Linked DNA regions of Homo sapiens: region 2 is linked to region 1. Evidence: promoter capture Hi-C in human tissues and cell types (Jung and others, 2019). All regions are on one chromosome and are shown on one strand. The core of a region is centred on a gene start or on the middle of the fragment in contact, and the rest is flanking DNA. Distances in the headings are between cores, read along the strand shown. Region 1 holds the start of ZP4 (zona pellucida glycoprotein 4). Region 2 has its middle 430 kb from the start of LINC01139.

Evidence for each region. The method cuts DNA at HindIII sites, captures the fragments that hold promoters and counts their contacts. A contact is called where the count stands out against the background at its distance.
Region 2: a fragment that was not itself captured here is called in contact with the fragment with the promoter of ZP4 in region 1 in 1 of the 25 tissues and cell types used here (dorsolateral prefrontal cortex).

The regions. Positions count from the first base shown.
Region 1 is chr1:237,889,649-237,892,348 of GRCh38, reverse strand. ZP4 (zona pellucida glycoprotein 4) reads left to right here and starts at 1,427. Exons shown (of 12, transcript NM_021186.5): 1 at 1,427-1,888; 2 at 2,173-2,294; 3 at 2,380-2,482. The coding sequence starts at 1,714. It also overlaps the pseudogene LOC100130331. The HindIII fragment of the contact is 12,268 bases long and covers 1-2,700 here.
Region 2 is chr1:238,915,494-238,918,193 of GRCh38, reverse strand. No RefSeq gene overlaps it. Among named protein-coding and RNA genes, the nearest start is that of LINC01139, 430 kb to the right of the region's middle. The HindIII fragment of the contact is 3,819 bases long and covers 1-2,700 here.

The DNA of each region.
Region 1 (2,700 bases), core at 178-2,677:
AGATTCTTTCTTACATGTGCAATCACATGATATTTACTTGAAGGAAAAATACCTAAGGGTTATGAGTTTGAGCTCATCATAAAGGAAATGAATTTGTACCGGTGAGGTTTGGAAACTACATTTTCAAGGGGGTTAGCCCTAGGACATGGCCACTAATGAAAGCATATTCATTGATTCAGTCTTTACTCAGAGAACACTGAGTACATACATCCAAGGCACGCAGGATGCAGTGACAAATAAAAAAGTCCCTGGCCTCACGTGCTTCTAGTGGCAAACTGAATAAGAAAGAGGTCATTACAATCCAACCTGGCAAATCCTGTGAGTAAATGGCATGTAATAACCCAGTGGTGAGCACCTAATCCAGGTAGACGGTGTCAGGGAAGCCACATCTGTCTTTGAGGGCAGAGTCCAGCTTTCCTTCAATGTCATTTTTCATCATGTGGTTAAAAGGGCCACCAATTTTCCCAGGAAGACACATACTTATTTGTCCTCTGTGATGAGTTGAAGAGAACTAGAGATACCTAGTTACACATTCTCAGTGCTTTGACTACAATTTTTAGTCAACCGAAAAATATCAGTCTAAATACAATCAGGGTACAATTTGGGAATATTGGTGGCAGACTGCAGAAGACAAGTTTCCATGCTCTTGCCTCTCCAGTGGGGAATGTATCCATTTATCCCCAAATCTCTTAGAATTTCTCTACAATCTGGTCTGACACTCTAGCTTAAAGAGTGACCAAAGTATATAACTTGTAGTTTATGTGGAAAACAAAAATGTAGAAAGCAAGCAAGAAACCCTGACATCTTTATGAAATATGCCTGAAACACAGCCGAAAGATAAAATTGTCAAATAGCTGTAAGAGGCAGAACCAGTTTGAGGAATTCATGGCCTAATCCACATTTCCCCCAGATCCTGTGGGGAAACACTGTAGGACAGTTATGGCAATGAACCACTTTGGAATTTGTTGAAAGATTGCTGTGGTAGGATTCCCTCTAAGGACCAGGAAAGGGTTCAAAATCAACCTTTCTCAGGAAATAAGTTTAGATTTTTTTCTAGAATTTCAAGACAGGCTCTAATCGTACAGAAACTTTTCTAGAATGGATGGAGAAGGTGACAAGGCTTCTCAAGGGCCCCAACTCTCACCCGACAATGTTGACTGAGCACTCACTGCTTGGCCAAGCACTGTGCCAGGCACCTGACATAGAATCTCTTGCTTAATCCTCAAGCACACCACTGCCAGGAGATAGCATTCCCATTTTACAGATGAGAAAACCAAGATTCAGAGAGTTTGTAACGTACCCAGACCCCATAGTTCATAGATGGTAGTTTCACACCCAAATGTGCAAAATTCTAGAGGGAGGTCTTCTGAAGTCAATAAGTTCAATAAACTGGTGGGACAAATGCTATGTTGAGCAACCCTGAGGAAGCTTTCTTTCCTTCCTTTCTGTTAGCTAAAAGTTACTACATTTTTCTTGGGCTCTGAAGTCTGCCTGGATTGTGGTATTTAATGTGAGGCAGCTGCAGACTGTGCCCCAAAGCAAATGAGGCTAGAGGAATTCCCCTTTCTGAAGGCATCCCACCTGAGTGTCACAAAGATGTGCAGCTGAAAACAAGCCTGACTTCTGTATATAAAGGAATCTGGGCAGGCAGACCCTCGGCTCTTGGGAGAGGAGGCGGAGAGTCTGCAGCCGGCAGGAACTCCTGGTAGCATTATGTGGCTGCTGCGGTGCGTTTTGCTGTGTGTTTCATTATCTCTTGCTGTGAGTGGCCAGCATAAGCCTGAGGCACCAGATTATTCCAGTGTGCTCCACTGTGGGCCGTGGAGCTTCCAGTTTGCTGTAAACCTCAACCAGGAGGCAACGTCTCCTCCTGTACTAATAGCTTGGGGTAAGTTTGATGACTTGCCTTGCTTAGCCAAGCAATGATATGTCTCCTCTACTACCTAAGATGTCTCCCTATCTTCCCGTATTGATACTTTCACCTTCTGAGCCCTGTTGCATCTTTCTGCAAAAGAAATAGTCTAAGTTATAACTACATCTGATCTGAATCTGATTTCCCTCTTGTTCCTCTTATTGACAGTTGCTCCTTGGGGTCTAATGGCAAGGCTGACTATCCTTTCTGGCACTGGAGACTGACCGCTGTGTTTTCTCACCTCTTCCCCACCCCTCCAGACAACCAAGGGCTGCTGCACGAGCTGCAGAATGACTCCGACTGTGGCACCTGGATAAGAAAAGGTCCAGGCAGCTCCGTGGTGTTGGAGGCAACCTATAGCAGCTGCTATGTCACTGAGTGGGTGAGTATGACCCAATGGCCAGGGAGACTGTGTGAAGCGCCTCATGCTACCATCCAGGCTGACCCCCAAGGGCCTGTCTCTCCAGGACTCCCACTACATCATGCCAGTTGGAGTTGAAGGAGCAGGCGCGGCTGAACACAAGGTGGTTACAGAGAGGAAGCTGCTCAAGTGTCCTATGGATCTTCTAGGTAAAGGCTGGAAGCTCTCAGGGTCTTGTGGGGGTGGTGGGGGTGGGGTGTGAAAGTACTCTTGGTCCTCTCTGACCTGCTCTGTGCAGTGACACCTGACACTAATGAAGGAAGGATCATGTCCCAACTCTCACCTCCATGGGCAATCCTTAGGATAACTACCAATTGAGACTCCTCAATGCCAAGGCACTGTGGGTAAGCACTTCAGGTGTTACCTT
Region 2 (2,700 bases), core at 99-2,598, 1.0 Mb before region 1:
CAATCATCCATGTATGTCTGGTTCACATTTTAGATTTATTCTAATCCATTGATATTAGAAACCTAGCTGCCTTTATTACTGTAGTTTGTTAAATTCTGATATAAGGTAGTATAAGGCTAATGTTTCTAAACTTGTTTTACTGTTGCAAAATTGTTTTGGCTATTTTATGTCCTTTATATCCGTACATATTATTTAAGGCCAATTTATCATTTAAAAAATACTACTGGGATTTTGATTGGAATTGCATCGAATCCATACATAAATAGAGGGACAAATGATATCCTAACATTTTCCAAACTAGAAGCATGCTATATATCTCTATTTATTTAGGTCATCTTTAATTTCTCTTAGCAACAATTTATAGTCTTTATTGTGCTTTTTTGTGATTTTGTATATATTTTGTTAAATAATCCCTCAGTATTTCATGTTTTTGATGATGTCAGAAAAGGTGAAAAGAAAACATGAGGTTATTCACAACTAGTCCTTAATAGCTATGAACAGAATAATTATTGTATATGTGAATTTACTTGTATTATCTTGGCATTAATGAGTTTAATCTGATTTTTACACTGTCACAAGCTTAAAACATCTTATTAAAAATTAAGAGTGATAGCGTATTCCAAATACTTCTTTTTAGTAGAATATTCTGTTCTGAACATACCTCTAGTTTTATAGTGCATGCATGCACACACACGCACATTTTTTAAGTCAAATTAAGGTACCATAAATAGAAATGAGTATCAGACTTACACTCTAAAAATTCTAAAAACGTACTATTCTTCTGCAAAGAAATATACTTCAAATGTCACCCAAAGAGGAGCACAGCATCCAGAAAAGCAAAGAAAGATGACATTGCAGTATTATTCACAATAGCAAAGATACAAATCAACCTAAGTTTCCATGGGTGGATAAATGTGATCTATATACACAATGGAATACTATTCTACCTTAAAAAAGAAGAAAATCTTGTCAGTTGTGAAGACATGGATGAACCTGGAGAACGTTATGCTATGTCAGATAAGCCAGACACAGAGACACAAATACTGCATGATCTTACTTATATACGGAATTCACAGTAGTTAAACTCATAGCAATAGAGAGTAGAACAGCGGTTGCCAGGGTGTGGGAAGTGGAAAAATTGGGGAGATTTTGATCAAACTTTGAGTCATAAGATCAACAAGTTCTGAGAATCTAATGTACAGCGTGGGTGGTGATGAATGTGTTTACTAATTTGATTGTGATAATAACCACAGAATGTACATGTATACCAAATCATCATTTTGTACACCTTAAATGTATACAATCTTTCTTTGTTAGTTAATTTTTTTCTTTTTTTAGAAAAGAAGAGTGTTATTCAACATAACCTCCTTGATAAAAGCCTGGAATGATAGTTCCAATATATTCCAAACTATAACATGCTCAGTTTTTTTCCTGTACCGAATGACTATAGCAATGACTAAGCTGCATGCTTAATAAGAGGCAGAAAGATTGAAAATTTAATGGTTTAAAAACTTGAATCCAGGGCTTCAACATTTGGTGAAAACTGAGAGGGAAAGAATGTTAATATTTTAATTCACAATGATTAAGCAAAGAAAATATAATAAAAATTGTAAGGATTTATAAAAACTTCAGATTATTAATGGTCTGGTAGGGATAATGCAAAGAACCTGTGATTCTTGAGGAAGAATACTGATCTTAACAAAACATTGACATCTACAATGTGTTTGTCACAAATTCCATGGCATAACTGACAGACTATTTGGGGGCATTGTGTTATCTCTAATTATTTTAATTAAGGAGTAATTTATAAAATATTTACAACTTCAGAAGTGACGCATATTATCATAGATATTTATAGTCTAGGTTTAAAATCCCTCTTAGCATCTGAAATAGCAAATTATACTTTTTACAAGTATTCTGAAATTGAGAAACAGTAAAGTGTAATAGAAATGTTTATATTGATGAAAAGTTATACTTCCAATTAACTTGTGCAGCAATTCGAACACTAATGGTTAAATATTATTTGTTTTTGTGGAGTGAGAGGGTTGAAGGAGAGGGTCACAGAAGGTAATAATAAAATTACTACTTATTATATAGCTTATATAACACTGAATTCTGTCACATAAAAAGTGGAATGTCAATGTTACTGTGCTCCCCTCCAAGAAAATGATATAAAAAATGTGTCGTCATTCACAAATGTAGATGAGCTGGGCAAGAGTCAGCAGAGAAGTTCTTTATGGTTTCCATGCAGAGTCAGCCTGTTTCATTATTGACTGCCTAAAAATTGATGTCCTGGTTTAAAAGTCTGACCAAGTACTTTATGTCTCCTAGATTACTTTAAAAAGGAGGGGTCGTGGGAAGAATAGGAGGAAGTGAAGGCCATTAGTTGTTGGCAAAAAGCAGAGTATATAGCAGCAAGCTAAGTGGAGTGGTTGTAAGATAACTGTTAGACACTTACAGTTTATCAGGAGGTTAATTGGAGAAAAGAGAAAATAAATCACTAGCATAGAAGAGGGGACTAGAGAAGGACATTTACAAAGTAAGCAAAGTGCAAATAAAGTGCAGAACAGGAGAGAGAGGGAAAGTGTCATCCTAATTTCCTGGAGATGGAGAATTGTGAATTAAGAAATACCCACCAAAACTGATGAAATTAACATTTTTGAATATAAACACTTATGGTTGGTTCAAATACCTAATATA